Linked DNA regions of Homo sapiens: region 1 is linked to region 2. The links are contacts of gene promoters, found by promoter capture Hi-C in human tissues and cell types (Jung and others, 2019). All regions are on one chromosome and are shown on one strand. The core of a region is centred on a gene start or on the middle of the fragment in contact, and the rest is flanking DNA. Distances in the headings are between cores, read along the strand shown.

What was found. Contacts are between HindIII fragments. The study calls those that stand out against the background at their distance.
Region 1: a contact is called between a fragment that was not itself captured here and the fragment with the promoter of HPS6 in region 2, in 1 of the 25 tissues and cell types used here (mesendoderm cells).

What each region holds. Positions count from the first base shown.
Region 1 is chr10:101,927,611-101,932,266 of GRCh38, reverse strand. All of the region lies in intron 23 of ARMH3 (armadillo like helical domain containing 3), which reads left to right. Among named protein-coding and RNA genes, the nearest start is that of KCNIP2, 86 kb to the right of the region's middle. The HindIII fragment of the contact is 7,411 bases long and covers 1-4,656 here.
Region 2 is chr10:102,062,498-102,067,287 of GRCh38, reverse strand. HPS6 (HPS6 biogenesis of lysosomal organelles complex 2 subunit 3) reads right to left here and starts at 1,939. Exons shown (of 1, transcript NM_024747.6): 1 at 1-1,939. The coding sequence starts at 1,813. RefSeq lists a silencer at 1,518-2,187 and an enhancer at 2,398-2,447. The HindIII fragment of the contact is 30,919 bases long and covers 1-4,790 here.

The sequences.
Region 1 (4,656 bases), core at 1,966-4,465, 140 kb after region 2:
TCTGCCTCTCTCCTGTTTTCCATTTTTTGGTTACTAGCCATCCCAGCGGGTGTGAAGTGCTATCGCATAGTGACTTTAATTTCATTTTTTTAAATAACTAGTGATGTTGAGCATCTTTTTATATGCTTATTGGCCATTTGTATATCTTCTTTGGAGAAATGTCTATTGAAGTCTTCTGCTCATTTTTTAATGGAGTTTTTTGGTGTTTTGTTGTTGAGTTTTAGGAGTTCTTTATTCTAGATATTAATTCATTATCAGGCATATGATGTGCAGATATTTTCTCCCATTCCATGGGTTGCCTTTCATTTCATTGATGGTGTCCTTTGATGCACAAGTTTTTAATTTTGATGAAATTTAACTTAGCTATTTTTTCGCTTGTTGCTTATGTTTTTGTTATCACATCCAAGAAATCATTGCCAAATCCAATGTCATCAGGTTTTCTCCCATGTTTTCTTCTAAGAGTTTTATGTTGTTTTAGCCCTTACATTTAGGTCCTTGATCCTTTTTTGTTTTTTGAGGTAGGGTCTTGCTACGTTGCCCAGGCTAATCTTGAACTCCTGGGCTCAATTGATCCTCCTGCCTCAGCCTCCCTAGTAGCAAGGACTACGGGTATACACCACTACACCCAGCTTCCTTTGATCCATTTTGAGTGAATTTTTATATATGATATAAAGTAAGCATCCAACTTCATTTTTGGGCACGTGGATATCCAGTTTCCCTAATGCCCACTGCTTTTTTTTTTTGTGACAGTTTTGTTCTTGTTGCCCAGGCTGGAGTGCAATGGTGCAGTCTTAGCTCACTGCAACCTCCACCTCTTGGGTTCAAGCGATTCTCCTGCCTCAGCCTCCCGAGTAGCCAGGATTATCGGTGCCCACCACCACACTGGCCTAATTTTTTTGTATTTTTAGTAGAGACAGGGTTTCACCATGTTGGCCAGGCTGGTCTTGAACTACTGACCCTCAGATGTGAGCCTCGGCCTCCCAAAGTGTTGGGATTACAGGCGTGAGCCATCGCACCCGGCCCCCACTGCTTTTCTGAGATAACTACAGCTCAGATTTCTTAACTTGAGTCAGGCTGAATTTGGAACTTAACTGTGATTAGAGATAGAAATGGAGCCTCTCCCGTTTTTTCCTACATATTTCCATTCCTTTTTGTTTCTTAGGTTTGCTCATTCCTCTGCTGTTTAAGAGATAGCATAATGTAGTGGTTAAGAGTGGGGACTCTAGAGTCAGGTTGTCTGAGTTTGAGTCCTTGCTGTACCATTACTTTGGACAAGTTATTTAACCATTCTTTCCTTGAGTTTTCTCAGCTATAAAGTGAGGATAACAATGGACCTATGTCATTATTGAGATTACTAAATGACAATATATATAAAGCATGTAGAATAGTGCCTGGCACATATTCAGTGCTATATACATGTTTATTATTATTATTTTTAAAAATTTGTTGTCCTGATTGTGCAAGTCTGGGAATCTTATCAGCCCCTTCCATACCCAACTTTGTTCAGTCCTTTTTCTGTACTCATCTGGGCTTAGTAGGGACCAGAGACACAAAATAATATTTATTTACAAGCTGACATCAGGGGCAATACTGGAACTTAGGCTGTCAGCCTGAGCCTTTGCATCATTGATGGGAAAATAGTTTGGGTGGGAAGAGTTTGTGTTTTCTATCACTTTCAGTCCTTTGAGGAGATGTCTGACCATGCAACCTTGGCTATATCATTGTGGTAAAAGAATGTCTCCAAAATGAATACACGTATACCTGAGAGGCTATTAACCAACATGTTCTTATCTCTGGTTGGCAGGATTATAGGTGGTTTTATAGGTTGGTGCAAAAGTAATGGCAAAACTGCTATTACTTTTGCACCAACCTAATAAGTTTTCTTTCTTGTATTTTAATTTATTAAAACATTTAGCTGTGAACTTTTTTTGTAGATACTCTTTATCAGGTTGAAGAAAGTCCTTTCTGTTCTTAGTTTGTTGGCTGTTTTTATCATCAAAGGGTGTTGGATTTTGTCAAATGCTTTTTTTGCTTCTATTGAGATGATTTTGTGGTTTCTATTTCTTATTCTATTGATAAAACGTACTACATTAATTGATTTTCAGATGTTAAACCTTGCATTCCTGGGATAAATCCTACTTGGTCATGGTGTATAATTTTTATATTTTGCAGGACTCAGTTTGCTAGTACAGGATGAGCATCTCAGATCTGAAAATCTGAAATCTGAAATGCTTTAAAATCTGAAACTTTTTGAGTACCAACATGATGTTTAAGGGAAATGCTCATTGGAACAATTTGTGTTTCAGATTTCTGGATTAGGGATGCTCAACTGGTAAGTATAATGCAAATATCCAAAATTTAAAAAAAAAATCTGAAACCTAAAACTCTTCTGGTCCCAAGCATTTTGGATAAGGGATATTCAGCCTATGTTTTATGTCCATATGCAATATCTGCAGACCAAAGAGGTATTGCTATCTCATTTTTTGTTCCTCTGATCCTTCTTTACTGCTTTCTTTTGCATTAAGTGAATATTTTCTAAAAAGCGTTTTTATTGCTTTAATTTTTTTTCACTATTTTTTGCGTTATTTCTTTAGTGCTTGCTCTAGGGCTTACCATACATATCTTAATTTATCGGAATTAGCTTCAGATTTATACTAAATTAATTCCAGTGAAATATAGAAATGTTACTCCTATGCAACTGTAAATAACATACACACACAACACCCACTTCAATAAACTTTATTTGCAGAGGACACTCTTTCCTGAGAAAGTGAGGACTCACTAGAAACAGGACTCTAATTTTGTCCACTTTATCATTTCTGGAGCAAGGACTAGATGATAGTGGGGAAAAAGTCTGTATTTAGATTTTAGATACATACATTTCCTTTGTGGGAGATTTTCTCACATGTAGGTGTTAAACACAGCATTTTAGATCCTGCTTTATTCCTTGGTGAGCTAATAGCCCACAGCTATTTCTTTTCCTTTACTCAAAATGTGAGCATTCAGTGCTCATTGGCTCTTAAGGTCTGCATATTGAGCTTTATAACAAAGTACAAGTACAAAAGTAACAGGAATAATATAATTTTGAAAGGACACAGTACTTAGATAATGTAGTCAAAGAAGGAGTTGTTAGGTGTGTTCCTTTATGTCTGGAGTCTTTAGAACTAGAGTCTAGTTCCTTTATGGTTTGTAGAAGACATTCTTGTACTGTGCTCTTTTTAAAAATTTATTTTATTGGCCAGGTGTGGTGGCTCATGCCTATAATCCCAGCACTTTGGGAGGCTGAGGCCGGTGGATCACCTGAGGTCAGGAGTTTGAGACCAGCCTGGCCAACATGATGAAACCCTGTCTCTACTAAAAATACGAAAATTAGCCGGGCATGGTGGTGGGTGCTTGTAATCCCAGCTCCTCGGGAGGCTGAGGCAGGAGAATGGCTTGAATCCGGGAGATGGAGGTTGCAGTGAGCCGAGATCGCACCATTGCACTCCAGCCTGGACAACAAGAGCGAAACTCTGCCTCAAACAAAAACAAAAACAAACAACAACAACAACAAAATATCTTATTGTATTGTATTTTTTGTTTGTTTGTTGTACTTCGAGAGACAAGGCCTCTCTCTCTTGCCCAGGCTGGAGTGCAGTGGCATAATCATAGCTCATTGCGGCCTCAAACTCTGGGGCTCAAGTGATCCTCCTGCCTTAGCCTTCCAAGTACCTGGGACCATAAGCATGTGCCACTGTGCCTGGCTTGTGCCCTGTCTTTTGTATCTCGTTTTCTCCCACTAAGGTAGGGCCTGCCGATTGTGGCCCGTTTTTATTGGCTCAAATTAGGAACTATTTCTAGAATATTGCTCCCAGGAGAAAGGGAGTCAATCTTGAGCTCAGCCCTCTGTCCTGAATCAAGCTACCTGACTATGAAAAAGATCTCTTTAGTGGTTCCAGGTGCATTCTCTGAGAGTATCATTTGAAGCCTTGTAGATATGGGGCCTCACCCTGTGTAAAGTCTCAGATTTTATAAGAACGTGAACAGCCAACCTGAGGAACCTTATAAGAACCTTTCATTATATTTGTGAGTTAGTTGGGAGAGATCTTGTATGTATCTGGTGACCTTACTTTAACTATTGTTTTGGCAAATGATTAAACATTCCTTTTTGTTGGTTAACTACACTGACATTTTCTCTTTCTTATTTTATTTTATTTTTGAGACAGTCTCGCTCTGCCCAGGCGGGAGTGCAGTGACGCAGTCTTGGCTCACTGCGACCTCTGCCTCCCAGGCTCAAGTGATTCTCGTGCCTCAGCCTCCTGAGTAGCTGAGGTTACAGGGATGTGCCACCACACCCGGCTAGTTTTTTGTATTGTTGGTAGAGATGGGGTTTCACTATGTTGGCCAGGCTGGTCTTGAACTCCTGACCTCAAGTGACCCACCTGCCCTGGCCCTCCAAAGTGCTGGGATTATAGGCGTGAGCCACTGCATCCAGCTCTTCTTTTTCTTTTTCTTTTTGTAGTGACAGGATCTCACTATGTTGCCCAGCCAGGTTGGTCTTGAACTCCTGGGCTCAAGCAGTCCTCCTGCCTCAGCCTCCCAAAGTGCTGGGATTATAGGCTGAAACTTAGTGTTCATCCTCTTTCTTAATGAATTATGCCAAATACTTACTTGAGC
Region 2 (4,790 bases), core at 690-3,189:
ACAGGGGCAGTCCTGGGCCCCCTGCCCCCCAGCCCGGCCCGCCCTGCTGCTGTGCCAGCTCCACAAAGGGTGGCAGCCATCGAGGCTCCAGCTGGCACAGACACTGGCACAGGAGTTCAAAGGGGGGCAGTATTCCATTGGGGGGTTCCTTTCCAGCGGTTATTCCCCCTAACACTTTCTTCCACACATCAGGGGGTGCTTGGGACCTCAGCTTGCCATTCCCATCTAGCTGGAGCTGCAGGGCCCTGAGGGTGGCACCCCAGGCTGCTGTAGGAAGGGCTTGGAAAACGGTGTTGAGCTGGGCTAGCTGGTCTCCTATCAACTCAGTCCTCAGCAGGCGTGCCACTTCCTGCTCCGCCAGCTCAGTCCAACCAGCCTCCTCATCATCCCCAGCCACCAGCTGGGCCTTCAGCTGTTCTAAGCCTCGGTAATCCCGAAGCTCGGTCCTCAACATGGTCAGCAGTGCAGATGGGGGCAGGTGGCCCTGGAGGATGGAGGCCAGAGCCTGAGGTGCCCGGAATGTGCTGCTGTGTCTCAGTTCTTCTGGAGTGAGCTGGGCACCCCGCAGGCTCCGCCGCTGGTAGTACCCGCAGGCCTCCTCAAACACCAGATCCTTGGCTGAAGGCAACTCAACACCCTGTGGGGCTTCCCAGCCCACACAAAACAGACCCAAGGCTGAAAGCAGACGAAGATTCCCTCGGGTCTCCAGCTCTTCCTCATCCTCCATGCCGGGGGCTGGCGGTTCTAGCAGATGTACCCTGTCTGTACTTAGGACCTTCCTCTCCAGCAGCTGCCCACTGCCCATGTCCAGCAGTTCCAATGTGGAGCCCAGCACACAGGCCAGAGTGCCCTGAAATGTGCCTAGGGCTGCAGACCCCCACGGGCCTACAGGTGCCTCCTGCAGGGTGCCCACAGCCCGCGTACCACCGTGGGACTGCAATAGGCTCACAGTGCCCCCGAAGTCAAGCAACAGCAGGCCCTGGGGAGTTGGGGCCCAGGTGTGTACAGCCAGTGGCTCCCTGGGGGACAGCAACCCAGGAAGGCCTCGGAGCAGGGTCCGGAAGTCCCATGTGTCCCCTCGTCCAGGATTCAGACTCTTACTGTAGGAGAGACCAAGCCGTGGGGCAGCCACCATCACTTTGCCCTTGCCTGGGCTCCAGATGAGTAGAACGTGGGCCACGCCAGGCCAGGTGGTGGCAGTGGGCACCAGGAAGAGTTGTCTGCAGGAGGCCAGCAGCCCGAAGGCAGGGCAGTGGTGCAGCAGGACGTGTGTGCGGCCCAGGCTGGTGCTAGCTTCCCCGCTGGGCTCCAGAGTCCGGACGCACACACAGTGGCTGAAAGCGGCTGCTGGCGACCCTGACGGGCCCTCGGCCCGGGCCTGCCGCTCCTCGCACCACACCAGGCGGCCTCGGAGCGCCGCCACTGCCACAACGCGGGCTCCCCCGCCCGGACACAGCTCGGTGCTCTGCAGCGGCCGCCAGCCAGGCCCCACGCCCGCGCCCCACACCTCGGCCAGGCCACTCTCCCACACCAGCACCAGCGCCGGCCGCGCTGGCCACGGCAGGAAGAAGGCGTCCAGCGGGGAGGGCTGGCCGGCCGGCCAGGCCCGCTCTAGCTCCGCGCCGGGCCCTCGCGACGCGACTAGCAGCTGTGGGGCTACCGCCCCAGGGGGTCGCAGGAGCAGCAAGTGGCGGCCGTCCGGACTGCCACGGACTCGGACCGCTGAGTCCCCGGCCACCAGCTCCCGGAGCCGCGCCGCGCCGCCGAAGGCGCTCAGGTCCGAGAGCAGCCGCAGAGTCCCCGAGCGCTTCATGGCGCCGCTGCGCGGGAGCGCGCCCAGGCTTTGCCCAGGTCCAGCCGCCCAGCAGGGCGAGGCCCGATTCTCGGGGGAGCGGAGCAGGGCCAAGACTTCCGTCTCCCGTGGATGAGGTGAGCAGAGGCCGGGCCGAGCGTCGACTCCGCCCCGCCCGGCCGGCTCCGGGATGCCTCCCGCAGTCGCTGGGCCGACACTACACGCCCGCCGGGGGAGGAGCCACGGGAGCGCCCCAGGGGCTCAGCGCCTGGACCGCGCCCGCCCGGGCACGCTCTCGGCGCAGGGGGAGGCCCTTCCCCAGACCCCAGGACGCCGCCCAGTGGCCCGGAGTCCCACGCAGGAATAGGGATTCCAGCCCCCTGAGCCCCTCTCCCAAGAATTTCACCCCAATTTACTCATTCAGGAAATTTTCGTTGAGCACATGCTTTGTGCCAGGCTCTGAGTAGACAGCCCTAAACAAAATAGAAAACCTCAACCTCATGGAGATGACAATCTAGTGGAAATAGTAAACATGGCTGGGCGCGGTGGCTCACGCCTATAATCTTAGCACTTTGGGAGGCTGAGGTGGGAGGATTGCTTGAGGCCAGGCGTTCGAGACCAGCCTGAGCAACATAGGCAGACCTTGTCTCTATAAAAATTTTAAAAAGACAGAAAGAAAGAAAGAGAGAGAGAGAGAAGGAAGGAAGGAAAGAAAACCACTTCCATATCACTATGTGACAGCCTTCTCTATCCCCTAGTCCCTTTTACAGATAAGGAGGATGAAGCACAGAGAGATTACGTAACTTAACTAAGATCAAGCAGGTATTAAGTGGTGGAGGTGGGATTTCAACCACAGGCACTCTGGCTCCAGAGTCAGTGCAACAAATCACTTTATCATATCAACAACTCATCACCCAAACCAAAACAGAGAAACATAATTTAGAAGCACTGAGCCTGTGTACCGACTCTTCAGTAACACCTACAAATTTGTATGCAGGGGTCCTTCCACCCCTTGACTGCCTTTTCAGGTGAGCAGTTTTCCTCCTCTCTCCAAGGCCAATCCCTCTTTATGAGCCCTGCCTCTCCTCCCCGGCCCCTACCTTCCTTGAGAACTTGCATCCATTTCTGTTTCACTGCCCTCATTCCGTCCTCAGCATAGAAATACCCTGTCATCTCTCCTGTCTTGGAATTCGTTCTTTCATCCTCATCTCCCCACTTCCACCTCCATCACTCCCTCCCCTTTTCCTTTCTCAGTCAATTTTCTTGCAAGGATGCTACATTTGCCACCTCCACTTTCTTTCCTTCTATCCTCAACCCACTACTTCCCTGAAGTAGCTTTTGCTGAGGTCTTCAAGGACATTTTTATTTGACAGCCTTCTCATTGAAAGTCCCTCCTGTGGTTTGCACTGCATCTTTCCTGGCTGGTTTTCCTTTCCTTTTATTTTATTTTATTTTTTTATTTTTATTTTTAGATAGCACTGCCTTCAGAGTTTTATTTGCCTTTGGTTCATCTTCCTCCATCCTTTATTGATTGATTGATTGAGATAGAGTCTCACTCTGTCGCCCACGTTTGAGTGAAGTGGCACCATCTTGGCTCAGTGCAACCTCTGCCTCCTGGGTTCAAGCGATTCTCCTGCCCAGCCTCCCGAGTAGCTGGGATTAGAGGCACCCACCACCACGCCCACCTAATTTTTGTATTTTCAGTAGAGACAGGGTTTCACCTTGCTGGCCGGGATGGTCTTGATCTCTTGACCTCGTGATCCACATGCCTTGGCCTCCCAAAGTGCTGGGATTACAGGCATGAGCCACCGTGCCTGGCCTATTTATTTATTTATTGAGACAGAGTCTTGCTCCGTTGCCCAGGTTGAAGTGCAGTGGCGCAATCTCGGCTCACTGCTATCTCCATGTCCCAGGTTCAAGCGATTCTCCTGCCTAAGCCTCCCTCCCTAGTAGCTGGGATTTCAGAAGTGCACCACCATGCCCAGCTACTTTTTATATTTTTAGTAGAGGTCGGGTTTTGCTATGTTGGTTGGCCAGGCTGGTCTCGAACTCCAGGCCTCAAGTGATCTGCCCGCCTTAGCCTCTCAAAATGTTAGAATTACAGGTGTGAGCCACTGTACCCGGCCCCTCCATCATCCTTTAAATGTGCTCTTCCTCCTATATCCTGATTCCACTTTGAGCCCCTTTATTTTTTTCTTTTGCCTACAGCTCAGACGTCTCTGCTAAGCTCCACACAAAAAAAGAGCATCCAAATGTCTACTAAATATTTATTTCTGCCTAAGATGTCTCATCTCACAGACATTTCATTCTCAACATGTCCTAAACATCATCTTCCTGCCCCAAACTGCTCCTCCTTCAGTTGCTCTTAGTTGACATAGATTTCTTTTGTTTTTGTATCCTATCCTCATATTTAGAGTAGAGCCTGACACAAAGTCTCCACAGATGTTTGGTGAAGGAATCATTACGTTTTCATGGGCACATGTTTGTGTGTGTGATATCACTTAGAAAACTTTTCCTTAAAAATTACAGAAGTAGGCCAGGCACGGTGGTTCACGCATGCAGTTCCAGCTACTCAGGAGGCTGAGGCAAGAGGATTACTTGAGGCCAGGAGTTGGAGTCTGTGGTGTGCAATGATTGTGCCTGTGAATAGCCACTGCACTACAGCCTGGGCAACATGGCAAGCATCCTGTCTCTTTAAAAAAAAAAATTACAGAAACAGACCATGGCTGTCTTAAGCAAAAATGAAGTTATTTAGAAGAACATAGGGGACTCACAGAATCTTCAGGAGAAAGGAAGAACAGGTGTGGCAAATGGTCATGAACCAAGACACCCACACCCACCAAATACTAAGAAGTAGGAAGCACGACTTTTTTTTTTTTTTTTTTAGACAGAGTCTTGCTGTCTCCCCAGGCTGGAGTGCAGTGGCACAATCTTGGCTCACTGCAACCTCTGCCTCCTGGGATCAAGCAATTCTTCCACCTCAGCCTCCCGAGTAGCT